Regions from separate parts of the Homo sapiens genome. Here region 1 is linked to region 2. Evidence: promoter capture Hi-C in human tissues and cell types (Jung and others, 2019). All regions are on one chromosome and are shown on one strand. The core of a region is centred on a gene start or on the middle of the fragment in contact, and the rest is flanking DNA. Distances in the headings are between cores, read along the strand shown.

Region 1 (5,182 bases), core at 1,353-3,852, 110 kb before region 2:
CTGCACACCAGACACTGAGCTAACTAAGCACTTCTCACTCATCTTCTCATTGAAGTTTTCAAAGAAACCCATGAGCCAGCATTACCATCCCTACTGTGAAGAACAAACTGAGACCCTGAGATATTAACTGGCAAGAACATCAGCAGCTGTCCTGCTTGTTTATAAGAATCAACTGAGAGGCCGGGCGTGGTGGCTCACACCTGTAATCCCAGCATTTTGGGAGGCTGAGGTGGGCGGATTACGAGGTCAGGAAGATTGAGACCATCCTGGCTAACACAGTGAAACCCCGTCACTGCTAAAAATACAAAAAAAAAAAAAAAAAATTAGCTGGGCGTGGTGGCGGGCACCTGTACTCCCAGCTACTCAGGAGGCTGAGGCAGGAGAATGGCATGAACCTGGAAGGCAGAGCTTGCAGTGAGCTGAGATCGCGCCACTGCACTCCAGCCTGCGCCACAGAGCAAGACTCCATAAAAAAATAAATAAATAAAAATCAACTGAGAACAAAAGGGAGAAGACTCTGGAAAACATTTTCTTTTTTTTTTTTTTTTTTTGAGACTGAGGCTCAATCTATCGCCCAGGCTGGAGTGCAGTGGCATGATCTCGGCTCACTGCAACATCCGCCTCCCGGGTTCAAGTGATTCTCCTGCTTCAGCTTCCTGAGTAGCTGGGATTACAGGCACCTGCCACCACGCTTGGCTAATTTCTGTATTTTTAGTAGAAAACATTTTGAAAATATAGGAAAGGATAAGTGGAGGTACAGGGGGAATCTTGGTAATTACGTTGTAAGATAGGACTGGTCTTATGTGTTTGGAGAGGCTCTGTATCTCAAGGTTTGGCCTGAATCTTATATTCCACAAACAGAAATGGCAGTTGGCCAGGAGATTGGAGACATCGCTGACATTTATTGCCTCCATTCCACAAATAGCTCCTTCTGTGTATAGAGGACTTACTAATCCAGTGTCTCAATTGATTCCTATAACTCTCTGTGGGGTGTGCAGCAGCAGCATGGTGAACCTCCTTCCCTTGCATAGCTGAAGGCACTGAAACCTGGAGAGGCAAAAGTACTTGCTTCCTTCCAGAGATCATGGCCCAGGTACTTGTTCTACCCGTGCATCCAGGGCTGTGAAAGGTCCATCCTTTTTCCCACACTTGCCAGACACCCACACTCTGCCTGTTTCAATAGAGAATGTAGGCCTAGACTCTCATGCTTAAATGCTCTTCAGAAAGCCCAAGAGTTATCATGGGGCTGACCTAGCCCAGAGACAAGATGAAGTTGGCCAATTTGTGCCTTGGCTCCTGGGACCTCAGTCTGGGCTGTGTTAATAATGTCCTGGCCTGAGGTCTTGGCATTCCGACTCGTTTTCAAGGTGAATCCAGTTCATTAAGCCTGGATGGGGGTAATCTTCAGGAGCTGTGACCCTTTGAGCTTTGCCATTGTGGCTTGAAAAAGCAATAGAGCTTAGAGGAAAACTGGGGATTGCACAGCACTGCTGTGGGAGACATCGTTTGGATATAGGGGCAGTAATGTTCATTTTAGTAGAAATTGAATAAAAAATGAAAGGAAGTTTTATGAGGCTGTCATTTCTCTCATTATTTCATTCATTACTCAACAGTTGTTTACTGAACACCTACTTAGTATCAGATTTCAAAGACCCAAAAGTAACCAAGACATTGTTTCTGCCCTGCAGGACTTCTCACCCTGGAAGGGGAGACAGATCCCTAAACCGGGAATTGCAATATGGTATATAAGAAGTTCTCTGATAGAGAGAGGCTTACGGGGGCAGTGGACCCACAGAGAGGGCACCTAACCCCTCCTGGGGAATGTGGGCAGGTGGTCACGGAATGTGTTTCTAGCAGATGAATAGAAATTGGTCAGGAAAGTGGAACAAAAAGGAGGAAGAGCAAGTGCAAAGGTCCAGCACCAAGACAAAGCAGTGGACCTTCGTGTGACTGCAGGGGATGCAGTAAGTTAGAACAGACAGTGAAGGTGGAGGGTGGCAGGCAAGACTTGAGTCTAGGAAGGAAGAAAGGGGCTGGATTCTTCAGGGCCATGTAGACAGGTGCTTTTCAAGCCTTCATGTGCATGGGTCACCTGGGGATCTTGTCAGACTGCAGATGCTGATTCTTCAGTAGGTCTGGGGGAGGGCCTGAGTTTCTGCATTTCTAACCAATTCCCAGGTGAGGCTGTTGCTCCAGGAACTACACTCTGAGTAGCCATGTTGTAGATTCTACAAGGAGTTTGAACTTGATCCTGAGGGATGAGCAACATAGACAAGCACAGCTCCCCACCACTCCCTCTCCACAGGCGATGGATGAGAATGGCTTAGTCCAGTTGTCAGGGCTGAGAGCAAGTGTGTAAGAGTGTGGATGTGTGTGAGTGTGTGTGCTTATGAGTGTGTGGTAAACACTCTTATATATCAATAATTGCTTGGTTCTCAAGTTCAGGTCAAAGGACAAAAGAATCATGTGGAGAAAAATCAGCTCAGCATTTCTTGCCCAACTCAGCCAAGCAGGTCAGGCACCCAACCTGACCGGGTTTTGAACTCATCACAGAACACATCCATCCACTGCCCTCCAATCAACCCCACATCCACCCAGTCATTTCTCCCTCCACAGGCTGGCCTATCAATTGCCTATTTGCTTCATGAGAGATAAAACTGCTGAGAAGTGGATTGGATTCGATTGTTGAGACTGCCTAAAATGCAGGCTGCCTCCAACTAGGGAAGGGACTGAATTCCAAAATGTCATAGTTTTCCACTTGAGCAGGGTGTTCAAAAGGTAATTAGGTGATGCTGGGAAAAATGCATGGGACCTGGAGTCCTGCTGACCTGGGTTCAAGTCCTGATTCTGCTAAGTTGTGTCACCATGGGCAAGAATATCATCTCTCCTTCCAGCCCAGGGTCCCCTGGGGATCAGCTGGAATTGCAGACACAGTTAGGATTTCTCCGGGGAGGGCGAGTTGCTAATTATGTTTTCTTGCCATGGGAGGGACAGGACAAGTGAGTCCCTTTTGGGGACCATCACAGCCACTATTAGAAGAAAGACTAAGCAAACAAGAGGGAACTGGGAAGTGGAAAGAAGCCCTAAGCTTAAGAGGAAACCCCCAACCCAGGAAAGGAGGATCCTTGGTACAAGATCTAGGAGAGTGTAAACTGCTCCCAAGAGGTGCTTCCAAGGACCGTTCACTTATTCTTCATTCAACAAATATTTATTGAGCATCTATTATGTGCAGGCACTGGGAACAAGATAGAGAAAAAAACCTTGCTTGGTGGAGCTCACATTGTACTGCAATGGGTGGAGGTAGGAAGAGAGCAGAAAATAAACATAATTAAGTGGTAAATATTAGAAGGTAATAAGTGCTAGGGGGGAGATGGAATACTACTGCGAGGGGCTTGCAATTTTAAACTGGGTAATCAGAGAAGCCCTCATTGAGAAGGTGAGATTTGAGCAAAGACTTGAAAGTGATGAGGGAGTGAGCCTTGAGCATGCCCAGGAGAACATAACAGGCAGAGTGGAGCCAGTGCAAAGGCCCTGAGGCAGGAACATATGGAATGCAGTGAAGAATTAGCAGTGTGGCTGGAGCTGAGGGAGCAAAGGGGAGATTAGTAGGAGGTAAAGTCAGAGAGGTAATGAGGGATCAGGTATAAGAATCTGGTGGGCTTTCACAGGGACTTGGCTCTTTCCTCTCGGTGAGATGAGATGCCATTGGAGGCTTCATTGGATAGATATGTTCTGACTTAGGTTTTAAAGGATCCCTCTGGCATCTTGCTGAGCCTATATGGCCAGGGATCTGGAATAGATACGGAAGACCAGTGAAGAAATGACTACAATAATCCATATGAAGAAGACGGTGGCTGGGGTCAGTGTTTTTTCTGCAGTAGTGATGAGAGGTGGCCAGATTATGGACTTTTATTGAAGGTAGAATCAACAGAGTTTTTGCATGGATTGGCTATGGAGTGTGAAAGAGAGGGGCCAAGGATGACTCCAAGGTTTTAGGTCTGAGCAACTGGGAGGCTCTTGCTGCCAATCACTGAGCTGGAACAACTGAGATGGGGAAGCATGTTTTGGAAGAGTCTTCTAAAGCTCAGTTTTTGAGATGCCAGTTAGATTTTGAGATGTCAGTTAGACATCTATGTTGAGATGGCAAGTGGGCAAGTGGGTACATGAGCCTGGAGTTCAGAGAAGAGATCAGAGCTAGGGAAATGCGTTTGAGAGATGATAGCATTTGGACAGTGTTTAAAGCCAGGAGACTGGATCTTCTGGGAGTAAGATGGAACGAACACCAGGCTAGTAACTAACTAGATTAAGGGTGAAAGTTGAGGAGGGAGGTAAGCTCCAGTGGCATTCTACCAGTGGGGTTTTAAATAAGAAGATGGCTCAATAGAAGTGCCCCAGCCTGGTGGACTGGCTTTTAAAATATAAAGTGACTGACAGCTCCAAGTTATTCATTTAGACACAGTGATTCATTTATTGTTTGTGCGTTTATTCATCCAGTCATTCCTCAGCTATTCATTCACTCATTCATCTGCTAAGCATCATTTTACTCCTGAGGAGGGTTGTTTCAAGATGATCCAAACATAAGCCTCTCCCTCAAGTGCACAGTCCAGAGGAAGGGATGCAGCAGGTACATTAGAAACTCTCATATAGGGGTATGGGGTGGAAGTGGCTGAGAAAGGAGACATCCTGACTGGGGAAAGGCATGTGTGCTCAGAGGATACAAGGCAAGCTGCACAGAGGGGACAGAGTTACTAACCAGGGAGAGTTGGGAGTGCATAGTGAGTAGACCCATCGGATAGACTCTGCCTGACCACTCACCAGCTGGGTGACCTTGGGCAAGTCCTTTCACCTCCCTGGTGAAACCGCAAATTGCAATCACTTTACAAGGTTGCTGCAAGAATGAAATGAGATGATGCATGTCCAGCACTTAGTATCTGGCACATGGTGGTACTTTGAATATCAGCCACATTTTCCAGGAACAGACGACACTGGTCTCCAGCCTCACTTGCAAAGATTGCCTCTGGAGACCCACTCACTGTGACTCTGACTACCTTTCCTCAAACAGCCAAGGCAAGGGATCCTGGGAAGGAGAGGGATGGGAGGTTGAAGTGCTCTTGAGGGTCCCAGGAGATCCCCCTACACTGAGGCCTTGGCTTCCTACCACCAAGCTGAGTGGCTACTTCAG
Region 2 (4,779 bases), core at 2,064-4,563:
GCTCAAGTCTGAGCTCTTAACCACTATGATATACTGCTTCCCACTCTGCTCTACTGTTCTGACATTTGAGGCAGACATCTGGTTGCAATTTGATACATTATAAAGCTATTGCCTCATCAAGTATGCCCCACAGAGGGGTAGAGGAGAAAGAGAGACTAAGCAGGGGGTTGCTTAGATTGCAGTTGCATGATGTATGCATATTGCTATGAAATCAATGAATTGAATATATGTTTCTATCCTGGTACTAAATTACCTTGAGAGATAGACTTAAAATATCCTGAGGAAGTTTATTCAGAGGGGTGGCCTTCATCTATAAACAAATATTAAGTGTGACACCAACAGGACTGACTAGTGGTTCCTCCACCCACTCCCTGCCATCCCCCTGCAGACTGCTACATGTGCTGGTTTGCCGACTGTGATCTGGGCTTGACTCATGGAACTAAACGACATTTCTGATGAGACCAAGTCCCCAGATTGCCTCTAGAGGAAGCCACCCAAACCCAGCTGATATTGTGCCAATGCCTCTGTCTTCTTTCCTCTTGAGAACTCAGCTTTGGAAACATGGTACTTTCACCCTTAAGTAAGTGTAGAATGTTGAAAAGGAAGTGGAAATTGAATGTCACTGGATGTGGCTGGCTTGGGTGAGAATGGGGATGATTCAGGTTTTATCCAGTCTGTTAAAAGACAACTCCAATCCAACCTTTCCTGAGGACTTGGAAACAAATGTTCCCTTCTCACTCTCTACCCCAAACCAGGAGTAACAGTTATAAAACCGGAATCTGTTCTACAGAGAGGCCACGCCTATTACAGAAGTATTACACAGGATTCTCCTAGCGTGACATAAATCCAGGGCTTATGGTTCAGGCTTTCACCTCAGGGGTGGTTTCTAGGGCAAAGGAGACCCACGACATTAAAAGGCACCAAGAGTGAAATGATACTGGTTGCAGAGGGGGAGTGGAGTATTATAAAAGTCTCAGGATTACATTAGAATTAGCAAAAAGCTGCAGAAAGGATGAGGGTTGAAAGACCTTGTGGGCCATTCATGTGATTGCAAATATGACCAAGAAAAGGGCAGGACAGTAACAGAGAGACAGACAAAAGTGGAAAGTACCAAGCAAGGCAGATAATAGGTGTGCTTTCCTGAATCAAAACACCACCAAGAATCCGCTTTCCTCTCCCTGCACCCCTAAAATAGATGGAAGACTCTGGACTAAATGCCATACTTCTAGTTTCCTGTGAAATTTCCTCTAGTTCCTTCTACAAGGGCATTTTCTTTGGCCAGTGCAGCACCTGATTAGCCAACAGTAGGTACGTTCCAAAGGTGGAATAGATAGCAGAAACCCAGGAAGATAAAAACCACTGACGTCAAAACTCTATACACAGAACCTCCTTCGGAGCAGAGAAGCATCAGCCTTTAATGGCATTTGGTATTATTGTTCCCCTTCTCCAGCCTGTGTCAGTGGGTGGGTGGGTGTCCCCTCCTTCCCGTCTGCAAACACTGGCTGGTGCTGCTTTAGCTTGAAGCCTGCTACACCCTACTGGCCTGTTGTGATGCTTGGCCACCCATTCCTAAATGGGACACCTATTTCTCTAAAGACCTGTATGATCCTCAATAAGACAGTGAAGAGGAAAACTTCTCCAATCTGGCTTTGATTCTTCAGACATAATTTCCCATACGTCTTCCACCTCACACTCACTGGAAAGTTCAGAATCAGTTGTGCCAGAACAGACGTTCAGTCTGTCCTAAGCACTTTTGCAGACATGTTTTCAATCTGCTCCCTAATGCAGACTGCCAGGATTAATAAATCCTCCAAGTGGTCCCCCTGGTCCACTTCTTTCTTTTCTCCTACTAAACCACTCATCCAACACCAGCAAAAGATGAGTTTTCATACTACCTTGATTTTCCCTGACAGAGAGCACAGCCTTCTTCCCTTCATTCTTAAACTCCTCTAAATTGAATGATTTATGAAAAGAATTGGATTTTTCTCTGTCTTGGAATGCTTCCATTTTCCCCCAACCTCCTCTCCCTCTCACCCCACCTCCTGTTCCCCTGTTTCTTTCATTTCTTCCCTTATTCTTCCTTCCATCAGCACCATGTCTACCACCATCCAAGGATCGGTTCTCATCCCTGAGTTCAAAGCAATCAGATTCTTTTTGGAAAAAAAAAAAAAAAACAAAAAAAAACAAAATAAAACTCTTCCAAGATCATCTTCACGATCTTGGAAGGCTCCTCCCTGACTCCTGAGCTCAGAGTCTTGGTTTTGGATGCTGGAGAGGAGAGAATTCAGCAGCAGCGGCAGCAGCCGCCAGAAAGGCGTGGAGGAGGGTGCTGTTTTGGGTGTATTTGAGGGAACAGCATATGGGCTTTTGTCAAAAATGTTCAAAGCTCGCTAGTTTCCGAGCCGAGGATGGAAATGTGTGCTATCTCTGAACGCTGCTTGAGCTGGCTCAGTTCTCCTTTTCTGGTACAACACCCCCCAAACATCTCAAATCCACCATTCCTTGGCCCACCTGCCCTCTGGACTCTGTGACACCAAGAAAAGTTTTTCAGTCAAGTCGTACCCCATCTGCACCGCCCACCCTCAGGTAGCAAAACCTCTTGAATAGGAGCTACGGGGGTCCAATAAGCGTTGCTTTCCCCCAAAGAATTCCTGTCCCTTCTCACCATCTTCCACCTCACACAAGCAATGAGTTCCCATGTTTCAGCGGGAGCCGCCGAGTAGTGACGGGAAAAGACAGGCGCCCTGGCCCGGCTGCCTGCATCCACCCCTCCGGGCTCTGGGGCACAGGCCAGAAAGGAGGACCTTCAGGATCCCCCCTTCTAAGAAGGAGATCATTACCTTGGCAGCGGCTTGCGGGCCGTGATACTGGCGACAATGATGCTCTCGGGACGGGGGGTGGCCACCGCTTTGAAGGTTCCTCGCCAGAACTTCTCAAAAAGCTGCTTCTCGCCTTGCTGAACGCTCGCCATCGCCAACCCAAAGGGGCCGGGGCGTCCGGGGCGCTGTCCAAAGTGCTGAAACGTGGATTCCAAACGGGGGCGACACCCAGCTCCCGGCTCTGTCCGGGTGAAACCCAGAGAGGGGTGGGGTGGGAGAGATCGGAGTTCAGGGCGGGGGATGGGACGCCCCAGCCCGGGCAGGCAGCAGAGAAAGGAGGCTCGTCCGCTGGGCTTTCTTCGCCCTTCTGGGTCGGCTCCAGGCTGCGCTCTGAGCTGGCTGAGCCTCTGCGCCCCAAGAAGGGAAGGGAGGGCTGGCTTTCTGGGCAGCACCAGGAGAGAAGAGGCGACGGGGTCGGATGTGTGTGCGTGCGCGTGTGAGCTCCGGCGCGCCCGGGTTTTGTCTCTCGCACAATGTGACGTTGGAAGAGGAGGCTGGTCGCGCGAGCTGCACTTTCCTCCCCCCTCTCCGTCTCTCCTCCTCCCCACCAACCCCCTCCTCCTCAGGCTCAGCCTCCTGCCGCCATCTGCATAACAAAAGCCCGCAGGTCTTGGGAGGAGAAAGGGCGGGGCGTGCGCCTGTCACCAGGGCCCCGCGGCGACCGAGTTGCAGCGCTGATCCCTCTGAGAAGCCATCCTGGCACCCCAATCTGCGCCAGGCAGGAGATCCTGCTTCCCAGGCCCCTCTCCTCTCCCATCATCGCTGGCCTTCCTCAGCCCTTTCCTGGGTGCCCCCTTTGGGCCAGGCCACCTTTCTTTCCAGCCCCTTCGCAAGTCTTGTAGCTGATCTTCTGCGTGGGGGGGGGGGGGGGGTTGGGGGGGCTCGTAAAAAACTTAATCTATCCACCCCAGCCGGCCTCCCCCAGACCCTCACTTTTGGGAGACACGGCCTAGGCCGGTACAGAGGGTGCCCTGCGTTCCTCTTTGCGCCGGGGGTTAGCGAGGTCTCCACCACCCAGAAAGTGCCATTTGATAGACAATCCCTCACCAATTCGGCTTCTCGCCATCTGCCGAGCAGGGCCCCCGCCCGCCAAGGGGCGCAGCGTTACATCTGTGCATGCGGAGCTGTCAAGGGTATCTCTTTTGTGTCTCACAGCCGGCCTGCCCAGCGTCCCCGCCGCCAACCCCGTCCAGAGGAAAGAGTTCCCATCTCACCCCACCCCACCCCCATCCACTCCTGGGGAATCCGCCTGCAGCCACTTTTCCTAATGCCGCTAGTCTCGGGAAAGGAGTACGTTTTGGAAAAGAAAGCGCTTAGTGGGAGGGTTGGAGAGGAAAATCTCGAGGATTAGCAGGGGGATAGTTACTTTTCGGTCTCTCCTCCCCATCTCCTTACCGCCTCGCAGTTCAATCGTAATCCCAAGCAAGTGGAGGTTTAGAATCCCAAATCAACCCCAGACACAGAAGATCTGGTTAGAATGACTCTTGTTTTCCCCCAGGGTTTTCATTATAAAAAAAAGAGATCGTGGCGGGACCCCTCAGCCCTTGCCTTCCTGGAAGCCTTTTAATCTTAGCAGAGTTGTTACTCCCCCATCTCCCACCTAACGCCCTCCCCCTCCCCCCAACCCCGCTTCCACTTTCCAGGCTGTAAATTCCTGGAAGGAGGCCTCGCTCAGTCTTAAATGCCTCCAAGCACCTGGTGCTGAGTCCCAGTCACAGCGAGAATAAACTCCTGCTCTTTGCTAAAGCAGATAGCAATGGGGACCCAATGAGGGCGGGGTAGGGCGGGGGGGTCGGGAGAACAATGGGAACTCCAGAAATTCTCTGAAGGGGAACAGGAGGTAACTAGGAGGTGAAGATGAAGAGGCCAACAGAGAGGATAAGATGGGGCAGGAGAAGAA

What was found. The method cuts DNA at HindIII sites, captures the fragments that hold promoters and counts their contacts. A contact is called where the count stands out against the background at its distance.
Region 1: a contact is called between a fragment that was not itself captured here and the fragment with the promoter of SRRM4 in region 2, in 2 of the 25 tissues and cell types used here (aorta and thymus).

What each region holds. Positions count from the first base shown.
Region 1 is chr12:119,091,329-119,096,510 of GRCh38, reverse strand. All of the region lies in intron 1 of SRRM4 (serine/arginine repetitive matrix 4), which reads right to left. Among named protein-coding and RNA genes, the nearest start is that of SRRM4-AS1, 42 kb to the right of the region's middle. The HindIII fragment of the contact is 4,289 bases long and covers 458-4,746 here.
Region 2 is chr12:118,980,075-118,984,853 of GRCh38, reverse strand. SRRM4 (serine/arginine repetitive matrix 4) reads right to left here and starts at 3,313. Exons shown (of 13, transcript NM_194286.4): 1 at 2,841-3,313. The coding sequence starts at 2,971. The HindIII fragment of the contact is 17,491 bases long and covers 1-4,779 here.